3 separate regions of the Homo sapiens genome follow, and all the other regions are linked to region 3. The links are contacts of gene promoters, found by promoter capture Hi-C in human tissues and cell types (Jung and others, 2019). All regions are on one chromosome and are shown on one strand. The core of a region is centred on a gene start or on the middle of the fragment in contact, and the rest is flanking DNA. Distances in the headings are between cores, read along the strand shown.

Region 1 (4,388 bases), core at 760-3,259, 670 kb after region 3:
TAACAGCAAAGAAATAGCTGAATTTTATTTAAGAGCTAACTATGCTGCCAAAATACATGCAATTCTACCTGGTGCTTAAATGGTTCTTTTTCACCATCAATAGCTTGTAACCTAAACAATACCATATTTAAAATCTACATATCTACCATTCCATATCTAGAATGAGGTGCCGGGGTGGGAAAAGCATAACCCTTATTGTTGTAATGGTAAGGCAGACTAGCTCCCCATGCTAGCCATCCTTGTACGCTGCTGAGCCTGTGAATTTACCAGGAGGTGTTCTGCAGAAGACACCCCTCACTCTCTGCTAGCTAAATTTATGAAGCTCGTTCTTCCAAATTAAGGCCAAGATTTTTCTTACTACCCCTAGAAATCTCTCTTGTATTTTCTACGGCATGAAGTCTCATTTATTCATTCTGACTTAATTTCAACACCTCATTGTCTTCCAGGTTAGAGTGTCAACTTCTTACGTGCCAGACTTCATCTTACATTGTTTGTACTATGTTGAATCTAGGAAATTCTGGGCACCTAAATAGCCAACAGGTGGATAAGACACCGGTTGTATGTAGATCTTTTGTCAGTGCTATTTTTGTTTTGGACAGGGTAATGTCTATTAATTTATGTTGTAAATATTAAAACAGATTTGTAATATATAGGTAGCTAGTTCAAACTTTATTTCCTTACTGTGTTCTGAAAAGTTATTCTGGTTTAGAAGAGTCACAAGTAGAAAGGGACTGGATTCTGTAAGAATCTTTTACATATTTGTAATAATGCCTGAAATAAAATTGTATTTTAAGATGAAATTACGAAATATTTACAAGTGACTATTATTTGCTGTAGATAGAGTACCTTTGTTTCAATTATTCTGCCATGAAAGAAACAAGATTAATAACTAGGTAAGTGTCCTGTGAAATGTTTTAAACTTACAAATATGTCCTATTTAAAATTGATTACTTTCATAATTGTTAATTGATCAAAGCATTCATATTAAATAAGGTCTATAGAAACTTTTTGTTGTAGTCAGAGTAAGGAACTCAATTAGAGGCCCCCAAATGAAATTACTAATAAGCCCATCAACAAATTATTGTAACTGAACCCTTATCTTGGCAGCTGAGAATTAAAAGAAAAGTTATTTGAGGACAAGAGATATAATTTTTAAAATTACCAGAATTGACAGGTTCTGAGGTCCTCTAAGTCCCCCTTTCAGACAAAGGGCATTTATTTTGTTATCATTATTATTTAAGACATCTTTCTCTTTGAAGCCCTTGAAACTAATTTATTTCTTTCTCCCTCCTTTCCCTCCCTCCCTCCATCCGTCTGTCCCTTCCTCCCTTCCTGCCTTCCTCCGTTCATATTATTCTGATCTTCTGACTAGGGGAAAAATAAATAGACTATGCATCCCCAGCTCTTACATTATTAGGACACAATTCGTATTTCTTCAGGGTTTTTTTTTGAAAAATTTTTAAAAGAAGGAGAGTATGAAGATTAATCAAAATTATTATCTATTGAGTAGGCTGCAATCAGGGAATTATCCAAGGTGTACTTAGGAAGAGTCCAAGCTTTCTCACATTCAGTGGTCTCAAATTAGCAGCAGCAGCAGCATCACCTGGAAACTTGTTAGAAACACAATTTCCTGGGTCTCACTCCAGAGCTCCTGATTTAAAAATTCTGCAGGTAGAGCTCAGGAATCTATGTTTTCACAAGTCCTCTAGGTAATACTAAATGTATTTTAGAATCCAGTAATTTATTTCTGGGCAGAATAAAGGACATGGAAAGCCTCATTCAAAACCATTTTTTCTCACAAAAGTATGTAAAAATATGTTGGAAATGCAAATAGTATGGCTGATTGTAGAGGGAAATTAATACAATTTTGCTAGTTCAGGTCTGATTCTTCTATTTTGTTCCACATGATCGAGGTGATTCTACTCATCTCTTAACAGGACTAAAGATAGTATGTTGCCATATTAATTAGAGTTTGACTGCAATCAACATTTATTAAAGAGCATAGAACAAAATTCAAATAATTTATGCTTCTATAAAGGTATCTTTAGAATCTCGGGTGGAAAAGTTTGAGAAGGGATGAGTTATGGCAGAATTTTTTTTTTAATCTTTAGGTAATTTAGAAGCGGAATCACATATAAACATTTCCAAATTGTATTGAAATATGAACACAATTCCACTATCTTTCTCCCAGTAAAATTTAATAGTCATTTCTCTAAATTCCTTTTCTGTTATGGAATGCTCTCTGATTTACAGACATGTATTATGTATAACTAAGAATAGAGGCTTTCAGAAATTGTTGACTCTAACAAACAAACTTAAAAGTTCTTAACATACGGTTGTTGTTGATTGGATTTATCTATCATAACAAGAAACTAAGATAAGGTTTCATTCGGCAAAAAACACCATGAAGTATCATTTCATGGAAAGTCATTAGCTAAGACTAAAGTATGAAGTAACATGAGAAATGCAAATAACAGCAATATAAATAAACTATCAAATGTGAAAGCAAAATTGATGTGAAAATGCATGTAGCCTCAGTGTTCTTTCCTCATCCCCTTCCCTCCCCCTGTTTTTAAGGCAACATCAAAACAGTTACTTCTGAGAATATTTATAACCTGTCAAGAGAAAAGAGTAGAGACTATGTGGCTGTGCATCCCTGAAGGAAAATGTTCATTTCAAAGCACCATTGATGCAAATATTGCCTCTTTTCTGTTTTGCTGAATGGGTTGTTACGCTGATAAATTTAATTGTGTTAGAAACATAATTATCTAAAAGCCACTGGCATTAAAAACACCAGTGTACTTCTGTAATAGAATTATAGATGTGGGATCATCTTTAATATAGGGGACATGAGTCTTAATATGACTTGCTTTATTTTATTTTATTTTTTTTTAGATGGAGTCTCATGCTGTCGCCCAGGCTGGAGTGCAGTGGCAGGATTTTGGCTCACTGCAAGCTTCGCCTCCTGGGTTCACGCCATTCTCCTGCCTCAGCCTCCCGAGTGGCTGGGACTACAGGTGCCTGCCACCAGGCCTGGCTAATCTTTTTTAGTTTTTAGTAGAGACGGGGTTTCACCGTATTAGCCAGGATGGTCTCAATCTCTTGACCTCGTAATCCGCCCGTCTCAGCCTCCTAAAGTGCTGGGATTACAGGCGTGAGCCACCGCGCCTGGCACGACTGTTGCTTTTCATGTGAGGAAATAATAGCACGATAACAACAACAATAAAAATGCTTCAGAAGAAGTTTGATATGGTTGATGGGAGATAGTGGTAAGAGATTCTTGCAGATGAATATTGCTATTTCTACTAAGCTGTTAAAAACTTGAGACATGGCCGGGCGCGGTGGCTCACGCCTGTAATCCCAGCACTTTGGGAGGCCGAGGCGGGCGGATCACGAGGTCAGGAGATCGAGACCATCCCGGCTAAAACGGTGAAACCCCGTCTCTACTAAAAATACAAAAAATTAGCCGGGCGTAGTGGCGGGCGCCTGTGGTCCCAGCTACTTGGGAAGCTGAGGCAGGAGAATGGCGTGAACCCGGGAGGCGGAGCTTGCAGTGAGCCGAGATCCCGCCACTGCACTCCAGCCTGGGCGACAGAGCGAGACTCCGTCTCAAAAAAAAAAAAAAAAAACAAAAAAAAAAAAAAAAAAAAAAAAAAACTTGAGACATGTCTAAATCTTCATTGTCACACACACACACACACACACACACACACAAACACACAATTTCCTCCCATTGGTTTTCATTTGGTTGTATTTACTGTACACTGAGATTTAAAAAAAATATATATGAAGTGGCAAAATACCTCTGCAAACAAACAAAACAAGTACAACAAAAAAATTACCAAATTACATTATGTGTAACTGAACTAATAGGAAATGTAAATATTCTGAAAAGAGGGAATTCTTAATTAATAGGAATTAAATATTGTTTGTCCAAGGAAAGAGATGTCAGAGATGAAATGGGTAGCTTGAATAATAATAGACGGAGGAGAGAGAAAATGAATGTGCATATCTGTGACGATGTTTTCTATTTAAAAATACAATTTTTAACGGACCCAATAGAAAATCTTATCTCAGTAAACTATCAACTGTTTTTATGAAATGAATACAAAAATCTATGCTTGAAGCTCAGTTTTGTAATGTGCTCTTATGACTTAGTTTCAATTGTTCAGTAATTAAAACCTCCAAATAATAGCAATTTTTACAAAGAATATTGTGAATATTTTACAAATAATTATTGTGAAGTATAAGACACTGTATATATCTCTTATATATGAAAGTGCACATATAAATTACTATTATCTCCAGGCTTTAGAAGAAAATATTTTTCAATATTTCTAGATATGAAAAATGCCTCTAATGCCACCATAGGATGAGAGTCTAGGAGA
Region 2 (4,668 bases), core at 62-2,561, 800 kb after region 3:
ACTTTGGGAATAAATTGCTTTTTTTCTAGTGTCTTAGGGTGAAAGCTACTATTTTTGATTTTGAGATGTGTGTTCTTTCCTAATATAGACATTTTATTCTGTAAAATTTTCTCTAAATACTACTTTGTAGGCAACTAACAAACGTACATATGCTATGTTTTTCATTGTTATTCAGCTTAAAATACTTCATAATTTCCTTTGTGTTTTTTTCTTTGCCATAAAAATTATTTAAAAGTATGGTATTTAGTTTCCAAATATCTAGATATCTTTCAGATAGCATTTTAATATTACTTCTAATTTAAATCCATTGTGGTGAGAGAGCATACTTTTCATGACTTTAATCTGTATAAATTTTTTGAGATTTATTTCAGTTCCCAAATGGAATACCTTGGCAAAAGTTCTCTGATACTTGAAAAGAATGAATATTCTGCTGTTGTTGGTGTGGCGTTCTATAAATGTCAGTTAGATTCAGTTGGTTGATAATGTGGTACAAATATTCCCCAATTTGAAAATATTGTGTCTGTTTGTTCTATTTAATATTGAACCTCTAACTCTAGTTATGGATTAGTCTATTTCTCCTTGCTGTTCTACAACTTTTTGCTTCATGTATTTTAAACTCTATTATTAGTGCAAAAAATATTTGAGATTTTATATCCTCTTGATGAGTTGACCTCTTTATAATTATAAAATGCCCTTTTCTAATTTCCATTAATTATCTTGGTTTTGCAATATACAATATCTGATATTAATATAGCAACTCCAGTTTTAGCATGGTATATCTTTTTCTGTCCTTTTACTTTTAACATCTTTATGTTTGCACATTTAATATGGGCTTCAATTAGACAGCATCATAGAGATGGCTGTTGAATTTTTATTCAGTCTGACAGTCTCCACCTTTTAATTGGGATGTTTAGACCATTTACATTTAATGTGATTATTGACACATCTAGGCACAGCTCCTCAGGGTCCTTTCTTTGTTGAACAGGATGTGCTTTATATTTGGATTATGAATAATTGACTGTGTGAGAGAAAGTTGGGTTTTAGAAAAAACCCAGGCAAAAACTTCCAGCAATTTCTTTAATAACCCTATACTCTTTAATTCTATCTAATAGTCAAGCCAGGCTACGTGATAAGATATACCAGGTAAAAGTCATCAGTTCATACATTTCTTCAAAAATGTAGCCAAATAGTCCTGAATGCCTCCAAGGAGTTTCAAACTTTAAACAGCATATTATAAGTCACCAACTAGTCAATATCAGACTTAAAAGTATCCCAACAGACAAACATAGAGCTCCCAGGTCTTTTCTATTTCAGACACTAGGAGCAAAACATATATGCTTTCAAAATAAAGTAATATGTTAGTTGCAGCTAATTTGTAGCTACCTTTTTTCATTCATAGGATTTTTATTTGAGACTTTATAGAAAGAATATATATATATATATATATATATATATATCTCATGAGAGCATATATCTATAGCTATCTACTATACATAGATTTTGCCAACTATGGTTGGTGAAAACAACAACTCTTCTGAGTGCTGAAAGACATATAGTGAATGTTTTGCTTCAGCAGTCTGGAAAACTTGAACTCTTTCTTCATAACCAGCGAACACTTCTGGGTTTCACCTGAGGTTCCTCTTTTTATGCTGTACCTGGAAACTCTCTTCAGGCATTAATTAGGGAAAATCATAGTCACTTCATTATTTAATTTATTCCATGAATCACTGTACTGTGCTCTCTGTTCAAAGTCTGAAGTCTGTTTTTTTTTTTTTTTAAATATTTGTTCTTTAGTTTTATTGTTGTGTATGGTGGGAAGGTAAAATATATGCCAATTGCTCCATCTTTGCCAGAGTGAAAATCCACATTCCAGTCTTCTTATGCTTACTGTTTACATGGTATATCTTTTTTACCTCATCATTCAATTGTATCCTGTTTGTTTTCTTATATTTAATAAGTATCTCTAGTAATCAGTATATAATTGTGTCTCATATATTTTGACAATCCTTGTCTTTCAATTAGGGTGTTTATATCATTAGTAATTTAATTACTGATAAGTTTGGATTGTCATCCATAATTTACTATTTTATCTATTTGTACCATTTTCCTGCATTTCTCTGTTTCTCCTTCCCTTTCTTATTTTAGTTGATGTAAATATTTTTAGAGTTCCAAGCAACTTAACATTTGGCCTTTAGCTATACCATTTTACCTTTTTATTTTATATTGATTGCTCTTTCATTCTTATTTTGTTCACCAATCTAGTAATTTGTATGCAAATTTTTACATTTTACCTTTTTATTTTATATTGATTGCTCTTTCATTCTTATTTTGTTCACCAATCTAGTAGTTTGTATGCAAATTTTTACAGCTTTCTTCTCAAATACACAAGCATTATTGTAAAGACGCAAGAATTGTAAAAACTCAGGGAAATACAACAACACCAAAAGACACCAACAAAGCTTCAGCAATGGACCAAGAAAGATTGAAGACCTATAAAATATCTGACAGATAATTATTTTAAAAAGTACAACAATTGTCTTTTTTTCCAACTTAACAGGTTTTTAAAAAATGTTTAAGTTCAGGGGTACAAATGTAGGTTTGTTACACAGGTAAACTTGCGCCATGGGGGTTTGTTGTAGAGATTATTTCATTGCCCCAGGTATTAAGCCTAGTACCCATTAGTTGTTTTTCCTGATTCTCTCCCTCCTCCACCCTCCAAAAGGCCCCAGTGTGTGCTGTTCCCCTCTATGTGTCTATGTCTTCTCATCATTTAGCTCCCACTTATAGGTCAGCACATGCAGAATTTGGTTGTATATTCCCATGTTAGTTTGCTAGGGATACTGGCCTCTAGCTGCACTCATGACCCTGCAAAGGACATGATCTTATTCTTTTTTATGGCTGCATGGTATCCCATAGTGTATATGTATCACATTTTCTTTATCCAGTCTATCACTAATGGGCATTTAGGATGATTCCATGTCTTTGCTATTGTATATAGTGCTGCAATGAACATATGCATGCATGTGTCTTTATAATACAATGATCTATATTCCTTTGGGCATATACCCAGTAATGGGATTGTTGGGTCAAATGGTATTTCTGTATTTAGGTCACTGAGGAATTACCACACTGTCTTCCACAATGGCTGATCATTAATTAATGTTTTATTAAAGTTGAAGAGATTTAATAAGTAGTATAATGTTTGGCCTTGAATAATTAAATTAGTAGATAGTATTTAACATTGCATTGACTAATTTAATGATTCAAATTTTCTTTTTAAATCCTTCAAGTACTAAACAGATCTAACATATGATCCTTACAAGAATATATTACCTAAACATTTATGCAAGCCTTTTAAATAAACTAAACAGCACACTAAAGTCTAAATATTCTAATATTATTTACAAAATTATTCACATTTTCTTACCTTCTTTAATATCAAATAAGAAAACCATTTTCCTATTTTACAGGAATTACAAGTCTAATATCTCAGTGGACTAATGTGCCAGATGTGTTTAATTTTGCCTCATTATGCACAAATACACACATACTATCCTGACTCTTACATGGAAATAATTATATTATAAATTTTATATACCTTTCTACAATTATATTTACATTTTTATCTTCCCAAGGTTGTAATGTTACTAACCCAACTATAAAGTTAGTTTTATCATTTAATTGGAAGGAAGATGGAGTTAAAGATCTGCACTGGTATATAAAAGTTTATGGGAACATATATGCCAGGACACAGAATGTGGAGGTCACATGTTTTCAAGATAACACATAATAAGAGATGGACATAGTAAGTCTTTTATTTTCTTTGATTTCATGTAAATGGGTAAACGCTAACTCATTTTTTATCAACTGGGGTAAGTTTTACAATGTTTCCTGATGGCCATTTAAAGTTGCAAAGTTTTATTGGATTCAACTGATTTCTTTATGTTTTATTGAAATTTAACAGCACCATATTTTATGTATTATTTTAAATAGCATTCCATTTTAATTTCAGTTTTATTCTATATTCTCATAGCTGCATGACTTGAGTAATTAATTACTGCCAATCTAATTTTCTTTATATGCAAAAGAAATATGGCCACATAGAAGTTCAGAAGACTGCTTTGAACGTTAAGTAATGTAGAACATGTAGACTGTTCAGTCCAGTGGCTGACAGTTATTAAAATTTTACTAGAGATGTTAGCAAGATGGTGGAATTGAAGATCCTCCAGCATCACTCCCTTTACAAGAATACAACTAGAAACAATTCAGAGACAAGAATACCAGTCTGAATATACCAGAATTCCAGGGGGCCCGTGGCCCACAGAATTAAAAGAAGCCATGGCCAGTAAGGGAAATGTTCATTTCAGACTGCGTGATCCCTTCCCCAAGGTGGCATTATACCACTTACAGAAAAGTTCCCAGGACCCACAGTTGCCAAAATGAGATGAGGGAAATAGTGGTTGACATTTGATTTCCGAAGTGGCTTGGGAATCTTCACTGGAAGCCCACTCTGGTTCTGTCCCATGGGAATCATTGGGAGTACCAGAAGAGCTGAAACATCTGGGATAAATTGAGAACAAAGAGAGGGGCACTGATCACAGCCAATGGTGTATGGATCTTGGTGGATACTCAGTGCTCTGAACCATGAGGACACCATGTTAAAGAGCC
Region 3 (4,192 bases), core at 41-2,540:
TTCTATTCATGGTCACTATAATAACACGAGGCTCTATTGTGGGGTTATGCATAAACTCACACTACCTTATGTGATCTTATGTTAATGCTTTCCTTTTAGTATCTTCTTGTAGCTTGGTAATATTTAAAATTTGTTGATACTCTCTTTGGTTGTGTTCATTATCTTCATTTAGGGAGATGTTGGGGAAGATTTTGTTACTAAAAGCTGTTACATATTAAGGTTTTGTTTTAAAAGGACTTTGAAAAAAAAACTCTTAAGGTTTTCCTTGCTACTATTTAATGAAATTTCACTGCATTGTGTCTTTTGATAGCCATTTTTAAGAGAGCATTTAATTTACTAGATAAGGATTCAGTTTGACCTAATTTGATAGAATATTGCTGTGTTTTTTGTAAAGGGCTACAGATTTTTTTTTAAGTTTAATTTCTTAAGGAATCCTTTAAACACATCTTCTTCTTATTTGCCTTTTCCCTCTGATGTCTATTACCCAGAATTACTCCAAGCTACATATTTAGCTGCATAAAGCAGTGACAGCTTGTCTTCTAAACAATGACAAATTTTAAAATCAGATATTAAGAAACCTTTTCATAGTTTCAAGGGCAGTGAGCTGTATGAACTTGCTTATCAGGTATTAGTGCCTCCAGGGCTATAAAAAGGTAACACATTTAAATGACTATCATACACAAGATATTGACATACCTTCCTTGGTCAGGCCATTTATGTGAAGAGGATTATGCCCACTGAAAATACTTTTGGCACGCCATCACTTCAGCAAAAAAGATGCTATCGAACATGCGCACATCCCCCAACAGTCTGCCTCCTGCGATTGCTTTTCACAGTATCCAAAGTGTCCATCTGTCTGCTTGTCTTCGAGTTACCCTCCTTGTTCATATGGGTCCTAGTCTTCTGAAATTTTCCCTTTCTTTCATTTTCTCTCTTTCGTTAAACAAAAGAGCTGTAGTTGCCCGTTCTGCTTGTAGCACTGTTGACTCTTCCCGACAGTTGATGCATTGAAGCTTTTTACATCTGCTATTTTCCTGGCTGGACAATGCAGTGCTGTGTTCTCGTCTCAGTATCCATATTTCTACTAATAACACTGAGCTGCAATGTAAAGCAGCCAGAGCTAAAATGTAGTGCTTCAGTTGTATTGGAAAAGAATAGGATTTACCTCTCTTCTTTCGTTGTTGCCTGGCAGCTGCAGGAAGGATTTTGAGCAGTTTTAATGGGGTTTTAGTCTATAATATGAAATCCACGGTTCCTCAGCTGCTGCACAGGCAGGCAGCAGTTTAAATGTGGGCTTGACAGATGCTCTCTCTGACAGAGCAGAATTTAACGTCACTGCTTGGCTGAATCCCACGTGATTGTTTGCATTCATTTTGACTAAAAACCTAAGGTAGGGAGAAGCTTAGAGATTTTGCTTTTATGTGATAAATTATATATGTTGAATGCAAGTGTAGTGATGAGTGAATAATTTGAAAATGTGATGATTATGAAATGGTTATGATTTTATTTTTTCCAGCTTACTTCCTTTTTTAACTTTATTCTTAAGTACAGGCTTTCTAAGTGTTTTCTGTGTTAGATGTTGGTTTTCATGTTTCTTACATGCTTTTGTAGGGTGTAAGCAGTATAAGCTTTTGTGTGTAAGTTGGTGTAATTTAACCCCTTCAGTGCATTCTCTTCTTGAAGTTTTTTTTCTCTGCTTTCAAATTGCTCTTGATTTTTTACTAATATGTAGTTAAGACCTATGGTTTCTATTGAAACCATGTATCTTTGTAATTTAGATCCCCCCCCCCGTTTTCTGGGGTTTGTATAAATAAGCTGTCTTGGATTACTTTACTAATGCATGATGTGATACAGCCCACTTCTTTTTTGCTCTTATGTGGTTTTTGGTGTTCTTGATGGCAGAAAACTTTATTTTAAATCACTTTTTAATGTTGTCATTTATTTTTTATTTATTTTTCCTTCCCTTTAAAATTACATGTATCGTAGAATTCAGTAAAATGATGTAATAGATATAGCACACTTGTACAGGATCTGGGGGTAATGAGATTTTACTAATTATGTTTACTTATTCTAATGTTTCAGAAAGATTTAATAACTTGCCATGAGGCAGATTTTATTAACACTACACACTCACTGAGATTTTTCTAATATGGTTAGTTTCTGGGGCTGGCACCTTCTTTTCTTACTGCAGAGCAGTAGGGAAGGTTTTTTTAAATTTTTTGTTGTAGTAAAAAGCCTTTATTATCAGTTTTTCCTCTGTGACTCTAGGGACAGTAATTCAGTCCTAGAAAGTTATAGTTTTGGAGCTTAAGCTAAAGGTTAACAGTTATATACATATTCTTCATCTCACTGCCTCCACCATTAATATATGCTATTTCAAATGAATATGAATTTGTTTTCTCTGATATTAAAAAAAATTTTGTCCACATATTTTTGAGCTTTGCTGATGAAATGTGCTTTGTAGTTTTAAGAACCCCACTGTATTAGAAATGTTAGAAGGATCGTTAAAGAAAAAAAAGAATTTTATAAATAGGAAACCTAAAGCCTAGACTGAGCTTTGACTTTTCCTAGTTAAGTTTGAAGGAGAGGACTAAAACCCAACTTCCTTGTAGTCTATATCCACCCATACTGCAATTCTCACTCACTACCGTTTTGTTTTTAAAATTAGTTTACTAGTTAACAGAGTAATGCTTAAGAACTTACTTAAAATAACTTATTTTCCAGAAGTACAGATGTGTTTTTGTAGATCAGTATTTATTTATCAGTGATTCTTTACATAGGATTTGACTATGAAGCTAGCCACAATGACCATTTATGGAGTATTTACTGAAAATCAGATTGCGTGCTAAGCTTACTTGAGCTGTTATGCAAATGGCTCTTTTCTAATAATTTTATTATTGTAATACCCACTTAAAAGATGCAGAACCAGTGCCTGGAGTTGTAAAATAGTCCAAATGTCAGATAAATACTGATAAGAATAGAGGCCAAGCTGGGAATTGAAGCAAGATTATCTAAATTCTTATCCTCTGTGTTTTTGTTTTCTTTTTAAATCTATCTAGTACTATCATTATTCTCTGTTCTTAAACTTTTTATTACATGGCACTGCTAGAGAAATTGTGGGATTTTTTTTTTTTCTGAACACTGGCGCAGCATACCCAGGAATCATTAATAGAATAATAAATGAATGTTTATATTTTCACTTTTTCAACAGGTACATATTGATTAACTACTGTGTACCAACATGTGCATTTAGGCATAGCTTATTAAGTATAGGGGATACAAAGTTGATTTAGAGACATTCCCTACCCCTTTCTCCAGGAAAGGACTAAATAATTATTATTCTTTTGCCAGTTCTTTTGATTGGATTTTTTTAATGTCTCCCTGGATTATTATAGATTTTGATTATTAAGAGAGTTATATGGGTAACGTATTCATTAGTGGGTCCCTCCAGTATCGGATTGAGTCCCTGAATTTCCAGTGGGACCCCCCCGCCCCGAACTGCTTGTTATGGGACAAGTATTTAAACAGCAAGAAACTTCCAAATATTACTAACAAAAGGTGCCTATGTACTTAACTGGAATTTACTTCATACTTTAAAAGTACAGCTGCAACCTCTTTCTTTCTGTCTGTCTGTTTTTTTTTTTTTTTGGAGACAGAGTTTTGCTCTATTGCCCAGGCTGGGGTACAGTGGCACGATCTTGTCTCACTGCAACCTCTGCTTCCCAGGTTCAAGAGATTCTCGTGCTTCAGCCTGCCGAGTACCTGGGATTACAGGCGTGTGCCACCACACCCGGCTAATTGTTGTATTTTTACTAGAAGTGAGGTTTTACTATGTTGCCCAGGCCAGTCTCAAACTCCTGACCTCAGGTGATCCACCTGCCTTGGCCTCCCAAAGTGCTAGGATTACAGACGTGAGCCACAGTGCCCAGCCAACCTGTTTGTTAAATTTAAGTTAAGCTAGTTAAGAACTTTACGTAAAGTTCAGGAAAACAGGGCAGATGTGAGATAAAAGTTCCTTTAGTAACTTTTTGTAGCAACCTACATGTTTCCAGTCAAGAGAAACTGTAAAAATCTTATGACAGGAGAGCTTGTAGAAGTTCTTCCTTTAGTCTAGTTTCTTTTAACATCTGAATTCTATGGTTAAACTAATTCAGTAAATGTGACAGGTTTCTTTTTCAGATTCAGCAAACTG

Evidence for each region. Contacts are between HindIII fragments. The study calls those that stand out against the background at their distance.
Region 1: a contact is called between a fragment that was not itself captured here and the fragment with the promoter of B3GALT2 in region 3, in 2 of the 25 tissues and cell types used here (heart left ventricle and thymus).
Region 2: a fragment that was not itself captured here is called in contact with the fragment with the promoter of B3GALT2 in region 3 in 1 of the 25 tissues and cell types used here (mesenchymal stem cells).

The regions. Positions count from the first base shown.
Region 1 is chr1:193,858,772-193,863,159 of GRCh38, forward strand. All of the region lies in intron 3 of LOC124904475 (a long non-coding RNA gene), which reads left to right. Among named protein-coding and RNA genes, the nearest start is that of LINC01031, 560 kb to the left of the region's middle. The HindIII fragment of the contact is 4,838 bases long and covers 1-4,388 here.
Region 2 is chr1:193,983,717-193,988,384 of GRCh38, forward strand. All of the region lies in intron 5 of LOC124904475 (a long non-coding RNA gene), which reads left to right. Among named protein-coding and RNA genes, the nearest start is that of LINC01031, 680 kb to the left of the region's middle. The HindIII fragment of the contact is 4,934 bases long and covers 1-3,778 here.
Region 3 is chr1:193,185,323-193,189,514 of GRCh38, forward strand. B3GALT2 (beta-1,3-galactosyltransferase 2) reads right to left here and starts at 1,291. Exons shown (of 2, transcript NM_003783.3): 1 at 697-1,291. The region is part of intron 10 of CDC73 (cell division cycle 73); the gene reads left to right. The HindIII fragment of the contact is 2,577 bases long and covers 1-2,239 here.